2 separate regions of the Homo sapiens genome follow, and region 2 is linked to region 1. The links are contacts of gene promoters, found by promoter capture Hi-C in human tissues and cell types (Jung and others, 2019). All regions are on one chromosome and are shown on one strand. The core of a region is centred on a gene start or on the middle of the fragment in contact, and the rest is flanking DNA. Distances in the headings are between cores, read along the strand shown.

Region 1 (4,059 bases), core at 1,084-3,583:
TTTGAATAAAAATTATCATACTCTTTGGATTTTGTTAACCTAGCCATACAGAACGAAGAGAATTATATCCTATGCCCTCTCCTATAAAGATTATGAGTATTTCACTAGAAAAAGAACAGGGTTCAAAAATTAAAGAAAACGACTCCAATTGCTTTGTTCATATAAGACATTTGTACATTCACTGGAAACTATGAGTGTTTAAATTCCTTCACCCAAAACTCAAGGAACTTTCCTGTTACAACCACCTTGGCTTAAGCAATGGACCCATCATGCTTTCCTCATCACCCATCTAAAAACCCCCACCACAGCACCGCCCCTCAAAGGCTGCGCTCAACCCTCATGGTCTGCAAGGCAGAGTTTTTGTAGGACAATTAACCGCAGGGTGAACAGCAAAAGCCGCCCAACAGCACGTCCAGCAACGTGTTTAAGCCGCCTCCCCGCCACCCCTCTCCCCCAGCAAAGGGATCTCCTGGGAGATTCTTGGGGGAGGGGTTGCAGAAATCGACAGAGGTCTTGAGTGATGGATACCAACTTAGAATGTGGTCTACTTATTTTATTGTGCACTCTGAGCGGTTTATGCTTTAATGCACAGTGAGATAAACGCAAGCTCCCTTCCCAAATCAAGTAATTAGGAATGTCTGACGTAATCAACATCTGCTTAAACTAAAACCCCCCCCCAGGAAAGACTGTGCAGCCTTTCTGACTCGCGTACCTTGGGCCGGCTAGGGCGGCAGGCCAGGATACCTGGAGCGCGCAGCTCCCAGCAGGACGCAGGAAAAGCAGAGCGTCTCCCAGCCTGCGACTGTCCCGATTCTCACCTTCCTGCAGGAGTGCAGGGATGGGGGATACTGAAGCCCATTTACTAGTAAGAAGTGTCTCACACATTCCGGGGGCTTCAGGCGAACCCCATAGGTCTCTGGCGCTCCTGGGCCTGAAGGCCCCGCCCGCCCTCCTCCACCCCCGCAGGGTGCCGAGAATCCGGCCCGAGGCGCGCGGGCGGGAGGTGCTCCCGGAGTCTGCACCGCCAGAGCTAACGCCGCCTCCTCCAGGCAACCTAGGCAGGTCCCAAGCTGCACTTCCGAACCTCCCCGCCGTTCCTCTGCGCCCCGGATCCAAGCAGCCGAAACCGCGCAGGGACTCGGGGGAAGTGGGGCCCCGGGAGGAAACCCACCTAGGAGCCGGGCCCCGCCCCTCCCGCCGCCAGCCTCCTACAGGTCCCGGGGGTCCCCCCGGCGCGGCCAGAAGGCGGCCGCGCCCCAGCCGCTCAGGGACCCGCGATCCCAGTCACAAACCATTTCAATCCAGATCACACACCACTTCGGCCACCCCAGAGCGGTGGGGGAGAGGAGGTTTCAGGGACCAACAAAAGGGATGCCAAAGAGCCCGTTTCCATCAAGCGGCCCGCGGGCTGGGAAAGTCAGGACCCGGGAGCCGCCGGCGCCCCCACCCCCGCCGCAAGAGCCGCTTCTCCGGGGCCACGTCCACCCCAGGATTCTGCCAGGCATCAGGCCGCCCTGGGGGTGGGGGGACGCTCCGAGACAGACGGGGGACACTCGGGGCCGTGTGCCCTTGAAGGAGGAAGACCTCGGGGAGGAAGCCCGGGTCCTGGGACCCTCGGGGCACATCTGCGGACTCGGGTCCCGGGCCCAGGGCGGGTACTCACATTCACACTCGCACTCCCACTCGCGACCCTCGGGAAGCGCCACCGAGAGGCTCCCAGCCGCCGCCGCCCGCCCCCAGACTCTGGAAACACTTAGGCGTCCCCAGAGCGCGGCTTATTGTAACCAGCCCGAGGGGGTCCGGGGTGCGGGCCGGGAGCGGCGTCGGGCGAGATGCGAATGGCCCTGCCTGGCGCCCCTCGTTCAGGAGCATGGGCGCCGGCGCAGCGGCCGGGAGCATAGTGGCGGCGGAAGGGCTGGCCAAGCGAGCCGTGAGCTACCGTCTGCGCACAAGCCGGAACGCCAGATCCTACCTGAAGTCCGGGACACTGAGAGCAGAAGCGCGGCGGCCGCCCAGACGGCCGGGATGCACAGCAGCGGCCGCCGCGGGAGCGCCGAGCCCCGGGCCATGCCGCAGGCAGTGGGGGCCGGGAAGCCCTCAGAGCTTCGGGCCGGGGCGCGGGGTCGGGCGCCACCACCCCTTTCTACGATGCGTCCGCTCCTCCTTCTCCCTGGCGCTTCGCAAACGGGTCCACTTCGAGGACCTCGTCGTCGTCCTCTTCTCCGGCCCGGATGCGCCGCTCGGCTCCGGCCACGGCAAGGGCTGGCTGGGGAGGTTCCTTGGCGCGGGCTGGGGCGTCCCGCCGGCCGCCAGGACGAGCGCGGGGGGCGGACCGCGGGCGAGCGCGCAGGAGGCAGGGTCCCCGCTCGCCCGCCCCGATGGGCAGAGCGAGGCTTGCGCCGGCGCCCCCTGCCGGGGGAACGCGCGGGCGGCGGGCGGGACCCAAGGAGCTGGGGCTGCAGCTGGGGCCCCGGACCTGCCTCCTGCGCCCGCCCTCGGGCCTGCGCCTCGGAACGCTTGAACACAAAGGTGGCGCCTTGGGGGCGTCAGCCGGAGTTCGGCGGGTCTGCCCACGCAGGAGAGGCGCCCAGAGCGGGTGCCCCCGACTTTCGGGGGCGACACACCCGGGGATCTAGGTCACAAATCAGTAACTCCAGGCTGCACTGCGCACCGGGACAAATCTGAGAGCCACCCAGCCCCAGACACCAGCGGTGAGGCAGGAAGAGGAGAAGCGAAAGTTGCAAAAGGAAATGTTCAGGAAAACAAACAGGCCGCCTTGGCACCGGCGCCCTCCCAGGTCGGTGGGGACAAGCGCGTCCCCCGAAATGCTCAAAACTGCCAGGGGTCGAGCTGCGTGGAGGGAGCCCTCGGGAGCGCGATGCTATCCGAAGCCACCGCGGCTTTTGGTTTACTGTTAAAAGCAAATTGTATAATTTTACCCATTAAAGGCAGAACACTATTTGTTCTCTGCAGAGGCCCAGAATGTGCAGAATTTGCTTCACTTATTAGAGACATTTTGAACGGAATTCAAATAGCATGTTTTCTTGCTTATTCTTGGTTTTGCTCAGCACATGCAAATGTCTTTGTTTTTCCTCTTAGAGGAAGGAATTGGATTCTCCAGCATCTCAGTTGCTTGTTCCATGAGATTGATCTTTTAACTGATTATCCAGCAGTTTGTTTGGTGTTTTTGCTGGAGTACCAAGCTCTGTTAATTGGAGGGCATTAGGGAGAGCCCTGGCCTTGGGTGCCAGACGTGAGGCCTCAGACGTGGCCAGAAATAAAAACTCTCTTGCTATGGTCTGCGGACAAAATGACTAAGCCAGCTCTAGCTTGTTACCTCTGTTAAAAGTATTTAGGCGTCCGGCTATCTCTACCCAATTTGTGTAGGGAAATATCTCACGCAGTTCTCATTCCCAGGAGCTGCTGTAAATCCAGTAGGAGAATGGGAGAAGATCCTAGCCCCTCCTCAACTGGATGGCAAAATTATTACCAAACTTCTTAGACGGGCTCAGGCTGTTCCTCTGCCCAGGCTGGTGCGGGTCTGAACGGGGGGGCTGCTCTCCCCAGTGGTTAGAGGACTGCCAGGGGTTTATCTTTGGGGTTTTCCTCCCTTTAGCTTCCCTTAGAATCCTTAAGGATGCTTTTAGAGTAATGTTTTAAGAGTAGGTGCTGAAGCACTTAGTTCCACACCCCTCTCTTCTGGATCTAGGGAAAACCCAACAGGGGCTGCAGAGAAGGGTCTTGAACCTGCCCTGGAAAACCCCTCCCTCAGCAATGCTGTGTCCTTTCCGTGGTGCTGTGCAGCTCGGAGAAGGTGGTCCCAGCACCTTTGCTTTCCACTTCACACAGCGTGAGCATGTGGCTCCAGAACCATTTCATCAGCAGCCCTGCCATTTATTTTTGTGTGACCTTCAGGAAAATGACCTCATCATGCCCCCATCTGTGTGTTATTTTCACATGACTGAGGCCCCACAAACCCAACTCAAAGGTTTAAACAGCAACATATATTTTGCTGACAGTTTCTTGGGTGGAGTCAGAAATGTGGGTTATATTGCATAT
Region 2 (4,059 bases), core at 806-3,305, 220 kb before region 1:
AACCTCAAGACCCGAGGTGCCTCCTCGCTGCCTTTTGCAGGCCCTTATTCCCAACGTTTTGAAATATTCACTCCATATATGACATGGAGTGAAGCTGCCACCTATTTTCTTGAAAGGCATTTGCTGCTCACTACCAGTCTACCACCAGAATCAATGTATACAGCCCTGGGGATGACCATGTGTCCTGCTCCCCAGGACGCCGTGCTGCCAGACCCCCTGCCTGGCTTGGGTGCTCCTAGGCAGGGCAGCTCTCTGTGTCAGAGGACAGAGAGGAGCAGGGCTCCACCTCACCCAGTCTGCAAACAAGCCCACTGGCCGGCGGGCTCTTGTGATTGCTGAGTATGGTGTCTTCTCAAAGGTGACTGAGGTCCCTGTGGGGTCTCGGCGGGGCTTCTATCCCCGAACCCCGGGCCCTGGTGCCACTCAAGCTTCCAGCTGGACTTGGGCCTCGTCCACCTGCAGAGTGTCACAGTCCCCCAGCAGCTCAGTCTCTGGGACAGAGCCTTCCTCCTCCTCCTCTGCTTCCTGCACGGTGCTCTGGGCCCCATCTTCTGGGGCGTTCTGTGTGTCATCAGCGCCCTCTGAGAGCAGGGCTGCCCTGTCTGCCATGGATGTGTTGGAGGGGGCCGTGGTGACGTAGCCTGTGCTGGTGGAGCCACTGCCACTGTGGTGTGAGCTGGGCTTGGGGACCATCTGAGGAGGCACCTGCTGCGGGGCCATCTGCATTGGGATCTGCACCGGGTAGAAGTTGGGCAGGTAGGCCCCATAGGCCGGCACCGGCTGGTAGCCGTTGACGGGGACGTAGAGCTGCGGCGGGGGCACCATGGGTCTGATCTGGCCCTTCATGGGGATGAACTGGGGCTGTGGGAAGGGCGGGGCCTTCTGCTTGGGCCCCACGTAGCGGGCGTTGCTCACATTGCTCACTGGGCTGGTGCTCAGGGAGCTGGTCTGCGTGGTGTTGCTGGCCCCCGAGGTCTGCGCCGAGCTGTTGTAGTTGGAAAGGTTGCCCCAGGCTCGGAGCCGGCTGTGGATGTCCTTGAAGCGGGGCCGCCGGCTGGGGAACTCGTTCCAGCACTCGATCATGAGGGCATACACCCAGGCGGGACAGTCATCGGGGCAAGGCAGCACCTGCCGGTTCCGGATCATCTCCACCACATCCTGGTTGGAGTACCCGCAGTAGGGCTGCAGGCCGTAGCTGAAGACCTCCCACAGGACCACACCGTAGGACCAGATGTCTGAGTCGATGGAGAACTTGCCGTACATGATGGCCTCTGGGGCCATCCAGCGGATAGGCAGCAGCGAGTTCCCCAGCAGCTTGTAGTAATCGGCGGCATACACCTCTCGGAAGAGGCCCAAGTCTGAGATCTTCACGTTCAGCTTGTCGTACACTAGCACATTGCGGGTGGCCAGGTCCTTGTGAACCACGTGGTGGCTGGATAGGTACTCCATCCCCGCCGCGATCTGTGCCACAAGGTGCACGAAGTCGGGGGGCTCCAGGGCGGACTTCACCGTGCGGTCATCATCGGTGCTGCCCACGTCCGAGTGCGGCGAGCGCATGACCAGGAATTCGTGGAGGTCGCCGTGCGAACAGTAGCTGAAGATCATGCTCAGGGGCTGGTCCTTGGTCACCACGCCCAGCAGGCAGACGACGTTGGGGTGTTGCAGCCGTGCTCGCAGCATAGCCTCATGCCGGAACTCCTCCCGCAGGGGCCCCTCCGCTTTGTCCTTCAGCGTTTTGATGGCCACAGCCTGGGTCTGCTCCCCCGGGGCAGGGCCGAACAGGTGACCTTTGTAGACTTTCCCAAACCGGTCCTCTCCCAGCTCCTCCATGAACCTCACCGCAGACAGGCTGATCTCTTTGAGTTTGGCCTGTCAAGAAGAAAAGCCCCACGTGAAACATCACTGTCACCGCAGCCCTGGAGGAAGCTGCAGAGCAGCCGGGAGGAGTGGAGTCCCTGTGCGGCCACGACTAGGGGGGCCTTGCAGAAGACCCGCTGGTTTTGCCCACCCAGCCTTGGCCTGCCCACCCACAGCTCTCTAGTTAACCTTAAATACGGCTCTGATGCCAAGGTTGCTTCCCATCTGCAATCTTCCACAGATCCCAACCAGGCTACAAATAAGGTCCCTCCAAAATCCAGCTGGGACACACTGACTTCCTTCCCACTTGTGCATGTGTGGACACACACACACACCCTACAGCCAGGCCCAGGCACCAGCTGCCCTGGGGCTGCCCCGGACATACCCTGCCAGGTTCCCTCCAACCCCCATGTGTGCCGACACATCACGTGAGATGTGATGTCTTTTTCTCATGGACCCCACAGAGGCTTTCCCACGACATTTTTGTCTTGGCAATTTTGTCACTTATAAGAGTCCAAGCCAGTTGTTCTACAGAGGTTCCCTCAATGGGCCTGTCCATGGGCCTCTTGACTAGGGTCTCTGTTAAACATGTTCCTGGAAAGAGTACCCCACAGGTGATAGGAGCCCTGAGAACCCTGCATCTCTCTCGGCCTCTATGACACCAGCTCCTCCCGTGTGGCCAGCCCTCATCCTCCCCAGAGGTTCCTGGGCCTCCGTGCAAGCCCCGGGGCTCTGTGCCCTCCTCGCTGGCCAGCCCCTGCCCATAGCAAACTCTCACCGACTCTGGGACTGAAGAGCCAAGTGCATCAGCTCCCTCCTGGCCACCTTGAAGAGCCCCTGCAAAGCTGGCTGAGAATGATGTTACCTACGGCTTGCAATGAGTGTAAATGCCCTTTTACAACACAACCTGGAGAGGCTGCAGCACATGTTCTCATCTGTTGTATTTCAGTGCCCCACCCCCATCTAAGGCTGCTCTGGGATGAGGGGTGGCCTTTTAGTGGTAGCCTGTCCACCTACTCCCATTTAAGAGCTATTCTCCTATCCTTCCCTGTAAACAAAACAAAGCAAAACCAACCCAACCCAAAAGTGTCAAGAAAAATTATGGGGAGCATTGGAGCCCTGTTGTTCTTGTGTGTCTTCTGGGCAGAGCTGAGGCACCTGGACAGTGAGGACACTCGCTGGGGCCCACAGGGGCAGCATGGTCCAGGCAGAAGGAGGCCCATGGACTCTGGGGCAGTGAATTCCCAACACGCCTGCCATTTATTTTCTAAAGCACACATGTCCTGATCTAGTTTACAGAAAAAAAAAATGGCAAAATGAAGCGGAGTTTAAAATAATTATGTGCTATGTATCAAGTAAATTAAGACATTTAATGTTGGGGGAAACAACCCCTGAGGATTAAACCTGGAAGAGCCACCCGGGTAGAAAATGTAAGGCATGGAGACCTGTTTGTGCTGGTTAATGAGGGGCATTTCCATGTCTTGGCTGGGCGAGGCCATCAGCTGTCGCCGCTGCGGTGTGGACGCAGATGCCTTCTGCTTATTCCGGCACATGCAAACCAAGAAGAAAAGGCAAGCGATGACCAGTGGAATTGCGATGCTGGGGACCAAGATGTACAGAATCCCCATCTTGCTGCTGTCTCGGGGACCTGTGAACAATAAGGCTTTCGTGATTTTTCAGAAAACATCCCTTTTCTACTCTAAGTTCTCTACCAACCCACTCTCCACCTCCAGCCAAAATCTTCACGTGCACGTGTGTCATCACCTAAGTTACACAATGGGGTAAAAGGGCACACCACACCTTAAAAAACATGATGCACCAAAAAATGCACACCCGGCTGCATCCTGGGGAAACAAAACCCAAAACTGCCCAACCTGGAAACAAGCGGGAATATGCAGTATAAAAAGTAAATGAATTCTAATGATCTTAATAACGACCACATCCGCTTTCTGTTCCTGATGTTTGAATACCATCGGAGATAGGTGCTCTGCCCAATTTCACTTTTATCAAGGTCTCCCCAGCTACTGACAAGTTCATGAAATTCACTGGAGACCCTTGTCCAAGGTGAGTGAAACTTGGTACTGGGATTAGACACGATCCTTTTCCTCATTCAACATTTTAATGTTTTCTTCACATTTTTATCTAATGATGACAGATTCTTTTAGGGTAATAATTAAACATGCACTAGATTTAAAAGAGCAC

What was found. Contacts are between HindIII fragments. The study calls those that stand out against the background at their distance.
Region 2: a fragment that was not itself captured here is called in contact with the fragment with the promoter of ROR2 in region 1 in 1 of the 25 tissues and cell types used here (spleen).

Annotation. Positions count from the first base shown.
Region 1 is chr9:91,947,895-91,951,953 of GRCh38, forward strand. ROR2 (receptor tyrosine kinase like orphan receptor 2) reads right to left here and starts at 2,334. Exons shown (of 9, transcript NM_004560.4): 1 at 1,973-2,334. The coding sequence starts at 2,069. RefSeq lists enhancers at 1,125-1,626, 1,627-2,126 and silencers at 2,320-2,499, 2,613-2,907. The HindIII fragment of the contact is 10,523 bases long and covers 1-4,059 here.
Region 2 is chr9:91,723,239-91,727,297 of GRCh38, forward strand. It overlaps ROR2 (receptor tyrosine kinase like orphan receptor 2), which reads right to left. Exons shown (of 9, transcript NM_004560.4): 8 at 3,303-3,505; 9 at 1-1,869. The coding sequence ends at 424. Among named protein-coding and RNA genes, the nearest start is that of MIR3910-2, 89 kb to the left of the region's middle. The HindIII fragment of the contact is 9,202 bases long and covers 1-4,059 here.